Linked DNA regions of Homo sapiens: all the other regions are linked to region 5. Evidence: promoter capture Hi-C in human tissues and cell types (Jung and others, 2019). All regions are on one chromosome and are shown on one strand. The core of a region is centred on a gene start or on the middle of the fragment in contact, and the rest is flanking DNA. Distances in the headings are between cores, read along the strand shown.

Region 1 (2,700 bases), core at 28-2,527, 320 kb after region 5:
TTGAGACAGAGTTTCGCTCTCGTTGCCCAGGCTGGAGTGCAATGGCATGATCTCGGCTCACCACAACCTCTGCCTCTCAGGTTCAAACGATTCTCCTGCCTCAGCCTCCCGAGTAGCTGGGATTACAAGCATGCGGCACCACGCCCGGCTAATTTTTTTTTTTTTGAGACGGAGTGTCACTCTGTCACCCAGGCTGGAGTGCAGTGGCATGATCTCAGCTCACTGCAACCTCCACCTCCCGGGTTCAAGTGATTCTCCTACCTCAGCCTCCCGAGTAGCTGGGACTACAGGAGTGTGCCACCACGCTCAGCTAATTTTTGTATTTTTAATAGAGACAGGGTTTCACCATATTGGCCAGGCTGGTCTTGAACTCCTGACCTCATGATCTGCCCACCTCTGCCTCCCAAAGTGCTGGGATTGCAGGTGTGAGCCACTGTGCCTGGTCTCTTTTTTTTTTTTTTTTTTGTATTTTTAGTAGAGACGGGGTTTCTCCATGTTGGTCAGGCTGGTCTCGAATTCTCGACCTCAGGTGATCTGCCCGCCTCGGCCTCCCAAAGTGCTGGGATTACAGGCATGAGCCACCGCGCCCGGCCTCCTCTCTGCATTTCAAGGTGTTGAGGGTGGAGTGGTTCATACAACTGACCCTTGGGGAAAAAATAAAGCATCAACTCTTGTCTTCCCTTTGTTCTTGCTGTAGTTTTCAGTGCCCATCAGCCCACATGTGCCCTGCCCTTATACCTTCACCTGAGCCAGTCCCCTGGACCCCAACATTCTTGACAAGAAATCAACCTGAATAGGCCCCACAAGTCACCTTGCTCAACTGCTATCGCAAATGGGAAACTCGAAGCCCCCAGAAGCAGTGATGGGGAGGGGTCCTGCTCTCTCCCAATACCCCAACTTCCCTTACGGCTCACCTCCCATGGCTGTCCTTGTGGAAGTCCAGTGAAAATCCAAACTGGCTGCCATTGGGGCCTGCATAGAAGGTGAGCTGCACTGGGTCCAGGTTCAAGGCCCAGGCTGGAGGGGCAGCACAAGGTCCCAAGAGCAGCAGCACCCACTCCAGAAGCCAGAGGGCTTGCAGTGGACACAAAGCTCTGGCCATCTTCCTTCTTCCACAACCTCCCAGGCAGGAATGGGCCAGCTCCTCCTCCTTCCCTTCAGATTCCTCCACAGGAAGTCTTTTCTTATCAAACTGGAACCCCAAGTAACTTGCTGAGCAACGGGCAGAGCAAAGGGCTATAGCCCCTGGACTCATGGTGGCTAGAATTGCCAGGAAGTGGGTGAGGCCACCCAGAGGGTGGATGCTCATGGCTGAAAGCCATGACTCCTCCCCTTTCCTGAGAATAGTTTATTACCATGTCCTATTGGTTCTGCCTATCAATGATGTCTCTTGAATCTTTACCCCATCTCTACTACCACCGTGCTAGTCCAAGCCACCATCACTTTCTGCTTGGGATAGCGTGATTGTGAACTGGTCCATACTTGTCTACTCTAGCCTACAGTTCTAATCTCCTCCCTTCCCCCATCTGGCTGTACAGCTGTGGTGCTTTGTGACTTGGCCACAGGTCGGGGAAGGAGAAGGAAGCTGCTGCCCCCGATAAAACCTGAGGCTTCTGTATCTTTTTGGATATGGCATTTACCCACTTCCTCCTTCTAGGACCTTGGGCGGCCTCAACCAGCCATATTGGTGCAGCAGCTTCCTCACTCCTCCTCCGTCTTGAGCCAAGCTTTAGTGTGGCCACAGCAGTGCAGTCAGTGCTGGGGACAGGGTGGTGAATGGACCTTGGTCTAGGTGGCAAGGAGATTGGGGATAAAGTGGAGTTATTCCAGGGAATTTTGACTCACAGTTTCTGAGATTATGCATTAGCTGTTCAGTTGAAGGTAGGCCCTCAATCCTTTTTGGGTGATGGAGCTCTTTAACCATTAAGACTTGATTCTGGTTGGGGGCTTTGCCTAGGGGAGCCTTCCCTGACTCCTCAGGCTGGCCGCGTGGGCTAACACACGTAGGCACAGCATTGAGCACACTGTTTACTCTTGGTCCGTTCACAGGATTGTGTAAATGAGTCCCTTGGGAGCAAGGCTCCTTGCTACAGCCCTAGAGACTACCCAAGAGTCCAATGTGTAGTACGTGTATTGCTGAAAGACTGGATGGAAACACACACTAAGGATGGAAGATGCAAACATAGGGTGACAAAGTGAAGGGATGAGTTTTGAGCAGAAAGGCAAAGTCATTTTCTCTCGGTAAGCGGAAGAGGAGGAGTGCCAAGTCTTACTGGCACTCATGCCTTCCCAAAAAAGCAGGTTCTCAGGAAGATTTAAGAGGTCCGCTAGGGGTAACCATAGCCACATTTTCCTTTTGATTTCTATTTTCTGATCAAACTTAACCATTGCCGTATCCTGCTCAACCACCCTGTACCATTTTGAAGTCCCCTCGTAATTTACTACCTCAGCCTAGAGTTAAGAATCTTATCCTTTATAGGACAGGAAGCTAAAAGCCTGAACTTTGGTCTGGGCCTTCTTCATTGCTGAGTTCCCAGTGTCAAGTACATGGGAGGCGTGTAATTAATGTATTTGCTTGAACGAATACTTAACCCAGTCCTCTACTTACCTTCTATCCTCCCACTGTCCTCAGGTGAGTGATTGCTGTATTACTGGTGTATTCTGTGAGGCCAAATATGAACTTACATTTCACTCAAGTTT
Region 2 (2,700 bases), core at 26-2,525, 400 kb after region 5:
ATGGTCACTGCTAAATGTCAAATCAGCAGTCTTATAAAGAATTACAGTTTGGAACTAGTGGAGTCCACAGATCTAGACAGATATGCAACATCACAAAACCCAATTATACATATACTTCCAAATCCTTAAGATGCGCAAACTAAACATCAGCAACTGGAGTTTGAAGCTTACACTACATTTTTAAACCTATTAGGTCATCCTGACAACCATAAAGAAAGAATTTTAATCAGTCAGGTAGAGCAAGGACCGACTAGCGGCTGATGGGTAGTTGCACTTCCAACCACAACAGTAACAACATGTTTTAAGTCTATGATGCATGCATTCTGCCTTCTATATAGCTTAAAGTCATTCTCCCATCTGATCCCTCATCTTTTTTTGTTTGTTTGTTTTTGGAGATCGAGTCTCGCTCTGTCACCCAGGCTGGAGTGCAGTGGCACGATCTTGGGTTCAAGCGATTCTCCTGCCTCAGCCTCCTGAGTAGCTGGGACTACAGGCGTGTGCCACCACACCCGGCTAAGTTTTGTATTTTTAGTAGACATGGGGTTTCACCGTGTTAGCCAGAATGGTCTATCTCCTGACCCTGTGATCCACCCACCTCGGCCTCCCAAAGTGCTGGGATTATAGGTGTGAGCCACTGCACCCAGCGCTTTTTTTTTTTTTTTTTTTTGAGACGGAGTCTCGCTCTGTCACCCAGGCTGGAGTACAGTGGCGTGATCTCGACTCACTGCAACCTCTGCCTCCCAGGTTCAAGCAATCCTCCTGCCTCAGCCTCCTGAGTAGCTGGGTAATCCCAGCACATGCACAGGCATGTGCCACCACGTCTGGCTACTTTTTGTATTTTTAGTAGAGACAGGGTTTCACCATGTTGGTCAGGCTGTTCTCGAACTCCTGACCTCGTCATCTGCCCGCCTCAGCATCCCAAAGTGCTGGGATTACAGGCGTGAGCCCCTGCGCCCAATTCCTCATCTTCTAACTATGATAAAGGTCATAAAGGACCGTGTATCCTAAAAAACACCAATTAATTCTTCTGTGATTGAATCCTAGACGGAGCTATGGCTTTAGATCAAGCTTTGTTTTGTAAATATTTTGTCTTTAAGTAAGTGGAGGTTATAATTATAACATTTGAGACCTAAATATCTCATAAAGCAATAACAATTTTTAAAATTCAAATTCAAAGCTTCTCGTAATAGGGATAAAATGTTCACACTTTTCAACTTGTTTTTAATAGAGATAATCAAGTTGTTTAGCAATTCTCATATAATTTTCTTAAAAAGATATTTCATTCTTGAGGAAAAATCTCATTGAAAGATATCTGGTTGGTTGAAGCAAATAAGGGAAAATTAAACTTCAAAAAATATTATTAAATGCTTTACAAATACTGGATTTTGATATATTTTCAACATTTACCTAATAAAATTGAAATACCAATATCTCACTAACAAATCTAAGCTTCGGAAGTTCACTAAAAGCATAATACATTATTGCATCTTCATGTCTCATTTCCCATCTTGCTGGTTTGCATCAAATTTAGCCTACTACAAAATAAAAAGACCTTAATCCTATACTCACAATAACCCTTCACACAGGCATATTCTTGGCACAAACCTGTGCAGAGACCTCCACGGTTACCAGCTGCTGCAGATTACCTTTGGTTAAAAAAAAATGACTAGACCTTTAGCTCCTGCAATGATCTGTAGACTCCCAAAGCTGCATATTTTCAGCCACTTTTGAGTTGCATGCTGTAGCAAAACAGTCAGCACCTCTCAATAGATATTGCTGCAGAGAAAGATTTTAATTCAGCACTCTTTCTGTGTTAGAAGTAACACCATTTTCCCCTAAAAACAAAACAGCTTAATATAGCCAGCCAGCCATGTAATTAAATATTTACTTATTATTTAGTGGGCATTCCTCAGGTGATAAGGGACTTCTTTTGTTTGGTGGGAGGGAGGGAACACTACCTACTTTGATGCCAATCACTGTAGGAGTTTCTCTTAAAACTTAAAATTTTCTGTGACCAAAAAAAGTAAAAAAAAAAAAAAAAAGTTGAAAAAAGAGAAAAACACTTAAAATTTTACTCACAAATGATCAGGCAACAGAAATAAGATCCCTCTTATCTTGTGTGTCAATACTTCTTTTTTTTTTTCTTATTTTTTCTTGCATCTTTGTTTATTCTCCCAGATCCTGTGCCCTACTTCTACCTAATACAATGTAGGCCATGAAGTTCTCTCCTACAACCTAAACTATCTCATCACAAATAATGCATATATTTATCTTTCAGAAGTAAATTTTCATTAGAAGTGTAATTACTAATATACATTTCTGAACATTCATTTATTTAAAAAAATTAAATATCCAGCCTGAGTACTATATACTATTTGCTATTTTAAGTGAAGAAGGTAGCACTACTTAATAAATAAGGCATATTATCAATTCTACTCCCACTGAATGAGATTATTCAACAATGATTACTCAATTAGACTGCCTTCTGATACTGTTCTCGCTATATGTGGCAGAAAAAGTCCTGGACATTATGAGAGGTAAAATAGCATTAGCCTCATGTGCCATAGGAATGAAATTTCCAAAAATATTTCAGTGTAGCCCTCTAGGCTTAAAATATGTTAAATATCATTTAATTTAGTGGTTTAAAAAATATTTGTTAAGTATCGTAATAATGAATACTAGGTTGCAAATTTCATCTAA
Region 3 (2,700 bases), core at 78-2,577, 320 kb before region 5:
TCCTTGCCAGCACTCCCTGTGAGCTCCATGAGGCTCCAAGATTACAACCACATGCCCAGAGCTAGGGTGGTGCCTGGCTCACAGCTGGCATCCAGTCAGTAGCAATGGAATGAATGAATGATCACCCTCTCTTCCTCTCCATCCCCACCCTCTCCTTTTTCACTTCCTCTCCCGCCCCATCTCCCCTGCCTCCGCCTTAAATCTGCTGGCATGACCAGCCCTCAGGAAGTTGTCAGGCAGGGGAGGTGTGTGCTCTGCACCCCTCTCCTTCCATCTCTCTTTCCCACCTCCCTTATGGGTACCTATCTCTCCTACCTGCAGCTGCTCGCTGCCAGCTCTGGCCCTCTTGGTGGGCAGAAGCTTAGGCACCCCAGACAATTGTAGGGAAATTGGGCATTGGAGGGCAGCCGTAAGAAAGGATTCAGTACCTGCCAAGGAATGATGAATTTAGTCTCTCACCCATGAACAGGCATGCACTTTCAGGGCTCAGGTTCGGTCTCTAAAGCAGAACGTCATTCAGGGCACCCTTCAGTACCCATGACCCAGTGTCTCGCCTTTCCTGCAGGAGTCGGTGCTGCCACTATGGTGACTCAGCCCCTCTCTTCTCCTCATTCATTACCTGGGTTCTTCCTGCAGTGATTGACAGTATCCTTTTTCTTTTGAGATGAAGTCTTGCTCTGTTGCCAGGGCTGGAGGGCAGTGGCACAATCTTGGCTCACTGCAACCTCTGCCTCCTGGGTTCAAGCCATTCTCCTGTCTCAGCCTCCCGAGTACCTGGGATTACAGGTGCATGCCACCATGCCTTGCTAATTTTTGTATTTTTAGTAAAGATGGGGTTTTGCCATGCTGGCCAGGCCAGTCTCTAACTCGTGACCTCAGGTGATCCACCCGCCTTGACGTCCCAAAGTACTGGGATTACAGGTGTGAGCCACCACGCCCAGCAAGTTGCAGCTCTTAATAGCATGGGCACCATATAATTTACTGCCCAGATTGGGTCATTTTTTAGAGTAGAAGTGGGAGCTGTTAATAATTACGCTTGGCCTACAGGTGTAAACGAGACCACCCTGGGCAAACCAGGCACATGGTCGCATTGACTAAGAGGAATATTCCCCTGCCTCCTGCATCTCCAGCCACAAAAGGAGCCTCAGCTGTTGGTCAAAGCTGCCCAATAGCTGAGCCCTTGCCTGCCCTTGGACAAGGGAGAAGACAGAGGGCAGGTTCCAAGAATGGGGTGGGGATGTGGCAGGAAGGACGGTGCAGGCCCCAGAGCTATAATCAATGATCTGGGAGCCGGGTTGTGGAGCACAGGGCTGTGTCAAGGAGCAGGTGGGAGGTGGGTGGGTGTGGGACATGGCACCAGCTTTTGGTGTCTGTGACTCTGAACTTGGCTTACTCGCAGGTGGCTTCTGCAGGCTCTCCACCCTCCCAGCTGCGTAAGTCCTGCCTGATTCAAGGAAAACAGGGAATTTTGGGGTCCTGTGGCTCCTCCAACGTTCTTTTCCTTTACCTCCTTGTGTAAATGTGGCCTGATTTGTACTTGGAGCATAAGTAGACCCCTACAGAGCGTGTGTGTGTGTCTGTGTGTGTGTGTGAGAGAGAGAGAGAGAGAGTGAGAGAGAGAGAGACAGAGAGAGAGAAAGGGACCTATTTCCTTCTATCCCTCTGTCTGTCTTACTCTCAGACTATTAATACAAGCCCTGAGTCTGGCTGTACCCCCAGAACATGTGCCCCGCCCCCTACAACAAAATGCTGCCCCTCCCAGCTAGGTCTGTTGTTTGTTCCTTTTCTGATTGGCGCCAGGCTTATAGACCCCATGTAGGTAGAATATAACTTTCCATAAATAACCTCTAACCCGACCTACAATTTAGCCTTCAGGTTTTTTTCCCCCTCGTGGTAATGGGATTGCAGCCTGGGCTGATCCATCCTGTATCTTCAGGTCCCAGAAAGCAGACCCTAGGTTTGGACATTGCTTGGAATTCCTGGTACCCCCATGTTGCCTTGCACATGGCAAGGACTCGGTACATGTTGAGGAATGGTGGATTCTCTTCTACCCATGAGCAGCCATGCACTTGCAGTCTTTGCTTGGGCTATGCCTTCTGCCTAGAAGCCCCCTTCTCCACCTGGAAAATCTCTAAGCAGCACCCACTTTGTGAAGCTTTCCCTAACCACTATCCCTCATCCCCTCCACAGAGCAAATTACTCCTATCTTGGATTCCCATAACACTTGGTACAAAACAGTGTGACCTGGTTATTGCCCATGTGCCCACCAGGTTCTAAGCAGCTCAAGTGAGGGGTAGGGCAAGGAACTGAGCCCAAGTATGGCTGTGGGCAAAACATTTAACCCCTTGGTGCTTCAGTCTCCTCAGATTCAAACACCAACCTGGGGCTGGGTGTGGTGGCTCACGCCTGTAATCCCAGCACTTTGGGAGGCCGAGGCAGGCAGATCACTTGAGGTCAAGAGTTCGAGACTAGCCTGGCCAACATGGTGAAACCCCGTCTCTATCAAAAATACAAAAATTAGCCAGGCGTGGTGGCACGCACCTGTAATCCCAGCTACTCTGGAGGCTGAGGCAGGAGAATCACTTGAATCCGGGAAGGCAGAAGTTGCAGTAAGCCGAGATCGTGACACTGCACTCCAGCCTGGGCAATAGAGCGAGACTCTGTCTCAAAACAAACAAACAAACAACACAAACCTGACCC
Region 4 (2,835 bases), core at 160-2,659, 470 kb after region 5:
GACAATCCAACAGTGTGCTCGGCACAGTGCATGCCACATATCTAGTTCCTGACAGGGTGCAGGACACAGTACCCCAAAACATGGTACCTTGGCGATCACTCTTCTAGGTCCAAGCGATCCTCCCACCTCAGCCTCCAGAGGTCACACTGACCTTCTCTGGCCTTTCTGTGTGAGCACTATCTATAAAATAATTCTCTGACCTATCTCCTCTGAAATTAGGTCATAAGACCCACATGCGACAGATGTTCTGCACCATACCTGGGGAATGGTGGGGGAGGAGGTTGAAGGAAAGTCATATAGAGGCACACGCACACAAAAAGAACCTGAAAAGCTGGGCACGGTGGCTCATGCCTGTAATCCCAGCACTTTGGGAGGCTGAGGTGGGCAGATCATGAGGTCAGGAGTTGAAGACCAGCCTGGGCATCATGGTAAAACCCCGTCTCTACTTAAAATACAGAAATTAGCTGGGTGTGGTGGCGGGTGCTTGTAATCCCAGCTACTCAGGAGGCTGAGGCAAGAGAATTGCTTCAACCCGGGAGGTGGAGGTTGCAGTGAGCCGAGATCACGCCACTGCACTCCAGCCTGGGTGACAGAGCAAGACTCCGTCTCGGGAAAAAAAAAAAAAAGAACCTGAAAAGATAGGTCTTCCTGAGTTCTCTCCCAGTTTATTTCCATCAGATCATACCCCTTTTCCTCTAATCATGTTTTTCCACAGCTATCCATTTCTTTCTTCAGACTCAGCATAAAAATATACTATTTTCCCTAGGTCTTTGGTCTTCATTTCTGAAGCCTCCTATATCACATAAGACTTTGGTTAAGTAAATTTGTTATGCTTTTATTTTGTTAATCTGTCTTTTATTATAGTGGTGTCAGCTATGAACCTTGTGATGGGTGAAGAAAAGAGATGGCTTTTTCTCCCCGACATGCATGACAAACCAATAAATGTCAACCCTGACTTTTTTTTTGAGATGGAGGCTTGCTCTGTCACCCAGGCTGGAGTGCAGTGGTGCGATCTTGGCTCACTGCAACCTCAGCCTTCCAGGTTCCAGCAGTTCTCCTTCCTTGGCTTCCTGAGTAGCTGGGATTACAAGCACATGCCACCACGCCCAGCGAATTTTTTTGTATTTTTAGTAGAGACGGGGTTTCACCATGTTGGCCAGGCTGGTTTCGAACTCCTGACCTCAAGTGATCTGCCCGCCTTGGCCTCCCAAAGTGTTGGAATTACAGGCGTGAGCCACTGCGCCCAGCCAGCCCTGACTTAAAAAAAAAAAAAATTCTTTAAGCCAGGAGCTGTGGCTCATGCCTGTAATCTCAGCACTTTGGGAGGCTGAGGCAGGCAGATTGCTTGAGCTCAGGAGTTCGAGACCTGCCTGAACAGCATGGCAAAACCCTGTCCCTAAAAAAATACACAAATTAGCCAGGCATGGTGGCACACGCCTGTAGCTACTCGAGTGGCTAAGGCAGGAGGATTGCTTGAGCCAGGGAGGTCAAGGGTGCAGTGAGCCAAGATAATGCCACTTCACTTCAGCCTGGGCAATCAAGCAAGACCCTGTCTCAAAAAAAAAAAAAAAAATTAGCAGCGGTCTGAGAATCAGGAACAGAACTAGGAAGGTCTAGATTCATGGAGCACCCAGGACTTACCATACCTCATGTAAAGGGGAAAATGGCCTTGATTATTTCAGAGAAATAGTAGGAAGTGGTGGTTTTGTGTACACACTCTGCAGTCATACTGGCTCTTCTATGTCAGCTATGTCATGTTATGCTGGTGATTTAAATTTCTCTGTGCCTCAGTTTCCTCATCTGTAAAATAATATAAAATTGCACCTGGCACATCATAGGGCTATACAAGCATTAGCTGTTATTATTATTTGCCTCTAACCCACAGTCCTATAACTCCAAAGGATTACGAGATGAAATAAACTCAATGTAGTACACGTTCATCTACACCAACTGTGAGCAAATAAAGATGAACCAATAGGTGGCTACACTTCAAGACTTGCTCATTTTCTATAAACTTCCTATACTTGTTAAGGGATTCCAATCGTGTGATCCTCCTAGGGGTGCTTGGGAATGGGAAGGACCCTATCTGGCACAGACCTTTTCCCGCACATTTTGTCACCTGCTCCCACTCGTGCTGCTGCCCCAGGTCCCCATGTCCAGCAGAGGGCGCTGTGGCCCTAAAATGCAATCCTCAGATGCTCCCCTCTCCCGCGAGGCCTACCGCTAGCGAGGGAGGCCACCCGCCAGAGGCAGCGGGCCTGACTCCAATCAGACCCTTTGTCCCAACCAGCCCTTTTCTCCAAGCAATGAGCTTGGAGCTCCACATCACCCGCTGCTCGCTGGCTTTTCAAACCTCACGCTGCTCCTTGAAGCGTTTTCTGCAGGCTCCAGCCCTCTAGACCTTCCTTCTTTGAACCCCAGAAGCTTCGCTGCAGCAATGAATCATCCAGGCCTTATGCTGATGTTAGTTTCCAAATTCCGTGGCAGCCCAGCTGTAAACCTCCATCTCGCCCTACAGAGAGCCTCCCGCCACCCACAGCCTGCGCCTCTTCCATCCTATTCCAACTTCTCCAGACAAAACTCACTGGCCCCACCCAGCTCTCACTTCTGCCTCAATCGGCTGGAGGGCAAAGCACTATTTTTCTCATTTAATCTTCCAGCAAACGATTGTTTGGGGCAAGAGGCCTGGCATGGTGGCTCAGGCCTGTAATCCCAGCACTTTGGGAGGCAGGAGGATGGCTTAAGCCCAAGAGTTTCAGGCCAGCCTGGGCAATGTGGTGAGACCCTCTTTTCTACAGACAACTTAAAAATTAGCCAGGCATGGTGGCATGTGCC
Region 5 (2,766 bases), core at 44-2,543:
TTGCAGTGAGCCGAGATTGCGCCACCGCACTCCATCCTAGCGACAGAGCGAGACTCCATCTTAAAAAAAAAAAAAAAAAAAAGATGCCATAAAAAATTACTCCTCCAAAAAAAAATTCCAATAAACCCACCTGTGGCTCACATAAAAAGGGAAGCCGTGGCACATTTATCCCAACAAGGAAGTGTTTCATTTCCAAGACTGAGTTTCCTGGAGTAATTCAGAAGTCACTTCCACCCCAAAGAAGCAGGCCACCTTTTCCAATCAGTTTAACATTGCTACTTTCAAAAGGGAGGCTGCTACTACGTAAAAGGACTCCATGTGCTGGACTGATCAAGGCAGCATGAGAACTTCACTCTTTCACCTGTAACTCACACATCCCCAAACCACATAAGCCCCTGGCAAGCCCTCTCTGGAACAGGTTTCCAGTGCAAACATCCCCTAAACAGCAACTTCCAAATGACCGAGAAGCCTAAAAATCAGCACAGCCCCCCCACCACACATACACACGCATCAGCGAAACAAGCCACTATCCCTAGCTCAGATACAAACTCTGCCCTGAACTTACTCTCCCCCAAAACAGGCAAGGACCAATTTGGTCACCATCCCACCGCCCTTCCTTGGACGAAATCCCATCAGTGCACATGCCCTCCTAAATTCCATACCTTTGCCCTACCAGCAGTTCCTTACCCTAAACACCCCTCCCCATAATATTTCACCCGCCCCTCCTTTCCATCCGGGCTCCAATCCATCAGCCCCCTCCCACCACCACCCCCTCTCCTAATTACTGTGTCCCCTCTCATAACGTTCCCCCCAAAAAGCCATCCCCGTGTCAAGCCCTCCTCCACCCACTGATCCTCGGTAAAGCCCCAGCTCCCGCAAAGAGAGAGAGACAGGATCCCCAAAGCTGACCGAAGGGCCCGCGGGAGGGGGAGGGGAGCTCAGGGCCGTGCGCATGCGCCCCGGGCGCCGCGGTAGCCGGTCGCCCCTAGGCCCGGAGAGAGCCCCAGCCGCCGCCGTCGTCCCCCACCCCCCGACCACCGCACCTACACGCCGGCCCGGACTCGGGCTTCACGCAGGGAAGGATACTTAAAGCCAGCATTTTGGATTGGTAGTCAAAGGCTACCACCTCGCCCTGCAGCCGCTGCTCCTGGCACGTCCGGCACGACACCTGGCTCCCAACGCTGAAGTACTCGCCCGGAGGAGCCGCCATCTTGGGAGTGCAGCCGCGGCCGGCGGCGGCGGCGGCAGCAGCGGGCGAAAGCCGGGCCCCCAGTGAGCGCCGCGACGCGACGGCGCGCACGGAGCGTGCTTGCGTCACACGCCGGGGCGTGGCCTGGCGCTGGTTGGGGCGGGATCCTAGGTGGAGTGGGAAAGAAGAGGAAATAAAGGGGAATCTGAAAAGTATTTGTATAGCTGCGTCCGCTCGGTTAAGTGCTTGTAGAGTCCATTTTAGAAGTTAAGGATAAATGACCTACGTGGAATGAAAAGGGGAAAGAGGAGGGAGCTGCAGTCTCCATTATATGCACACCTTCCACACAAGAGTTTAATGAATGAATTTTATAAAATATGTTAACCCCATTTTGCATATGAGGAATCAGAGCCTCAGAGGACTTAACGATACTTGGACAAGATGATTATAAGGCTGGGAGCGGTGGCTCACGCCTGTAATCCCAGCACTTTGGGAGGCCGAGGCGGGTGGATCACCTGAGGTCAGGGGTTCGAGACCAGCCTGGCCAACATGGTGAAACCCCGTCTCTACTAAAAATACAAAAATTAGCCGGGTACGGTGGCGCGTGCCTGTAATCCCAGCTACTAGGGGGACTGAGGCTGGAGGATCTCTTGAACCTGGAAGGCGGAGGTTGCACTGAGCCAAGATTGTGCCACTGCACTCTAGCCTGGGCAACAGAGCGAGACTCTGTCTCAAAACAAACAAACAAACAAAAAAAGATGATTATAACTACTGAGTGATAGTGGAAAGAACATTGGCTGTGGAGTTAGATAAGCTGGAACCAGAATCCGAGGTCAGCCTCTTACTAAATCACCTGACCTTGAGCAAGCAAATTACCTGATCCTGTTTCTTCATAGGCATTTGTATTGTCACTTCTTGAGCATCTAACAGCCCTTTGAGGTAGGAATCAATGTCCTCCTTTTACATAAACTAAGTTTTAGACTAAACTTGTCCACGGTTCCACAACTAGCAAAAACAGTCTGCCTATTTCCAAGGACGGTGCTATTTACTGCTATACTCTGTTACATAATAATACCTACCTCATAGTTAGGAGGTTTAAATGCGGTAACGGGTATAAGTGCATGGCATGTACTAGGTCTTTAATAAATGGTAGTTCCCCCTTAGTCACCCATCACTCTTAGAAGTCAAGACACTTCCCCTTCTCCCTTTTTGCCCTCTCTCCCAGAAAGCCAGGCAAAAGGCAGGAATGAGGAGCAGCGGATAGTGACAAAAAGGGGCTTGGAGGAGGGGTTTTGCGCCCCTGCCCTTGAATGTCCGTCTGATGTACAAAACAGTCGTTTTCTTAATCTTATGCAAAGGACTATGAGCGTGCATTTTCAAGCCCTACTACCACCAATGGCTGTCGCTAACCCACCCACCGCTCACTATAGAAATTTTGGATCCTCGCTTCATGTATAAGAAACAGGTTGACCTTTCTCTAGTCCAGAGGGAAGCAAAGGGCCAGTCTTGGCGCGGCTTAACCTGAACAAAGTTCAAAAGTATTTCCTTGCCCTCCAAGAAACATAAACTTCCTGGTG

The links. The method cuts DNA at HindIII sites, captures the fragments that hold promoters and counts their contacts. A contact is called where the count stands out against the background at its distance.
Region 1: the fragment with the promoter of ITGA2B here is called in contact with the fragment with the promoter of LSM12 in region 5 in 1 of the 25 tissues and cell types used here (spleen).
Region 2: a fragment that was not itself captured here is called in contact with the fragment with the promoter of LSM12 in region 5 in 2 of the 25 tissues and cell types used here (dorsolateral prefrontal cortex and spleen).
Region 3: a contact is called between a fragment that was not itself captured here and the fragment with the promoter of LSM12 in region 5, in 2 of the 25 tissues and cell types used here (dorsolateral prefrontal cortex and lymphoblastoid cells).
Region 4: a contact is called between a fragment that was not itself captured here and the fragment with the promoter of LSM12 in region 5, in 1 of the 25 tissues and cell types used here (aorta).

What each region holds. Positions count from the first base shown.
Region 1 is chr17:44,388,372-44,391,071 of GRCh38, forward strand. It overlaps ITGA2B (integrin subunit alpha 2b), which reads right to left and starts at 1,278. Exons shown (of 30, transcript NM_000419.5): 1 at 915-1,278. The coding sequence starts at 1,102. RefSeq lists an enhancer at 1,435-1,494. The HindIII fragment of the contact is 17,139 bases long and covers 1-2,538 here.
Region 2 is chr17:44,469,848-44,472,547 of GRCh38, forward strand. The region is part of intron 2 of GPATCH8 (G-patch domain containing 8); the gene reads right to left. Among named protein-coding and RNA genes, the nearest start is that of GPATCH8, 32 kb to the right of the region's middle. The HindIII fragment of the contact is 3,729 bases long and covers 1-2,700 here.
Region 3 is chr17:43,749,790-43,752,489 of GRCh38, forward strand. No RefSeq gene overlaps it. Among named protein-coding and RNA genes, the nearest start is that of SOST, 7.7 kb to the right of the region's middle. The HindIII fragment of the contact is 3,915 bases long and covers 1-2,700 here.
Region 4 is chr17:44,531,535-44,534,369 of GRCh38, forward strand. No RefSeq gene overlaps it. Among named protein-coding and RNA genes, the nearest start is that of FZD2, 25 kb to the right of the region's middle. RefSeq lists enhancers at 1,880-2,384, 2,385-2,835. The HindIII fragment of the contact is 6,008 bases long and covers 1-2,835 here.
Region 5 is chr17:44,065,378-44,068,143 of GRCh38, forward strand. LSM12 (LSM12 homolog) reads right to left here and starts at 1,294. Exons shown (of 5, transcript NM_001371445.1): 1 at 1,087-1,294. The coding sequence starts at 1,210. RefSeq lists silencers at 827-966, 1,257-1,376. The HindIII fragment of the contact is 14,418 bases long and covers 1-2,766 here.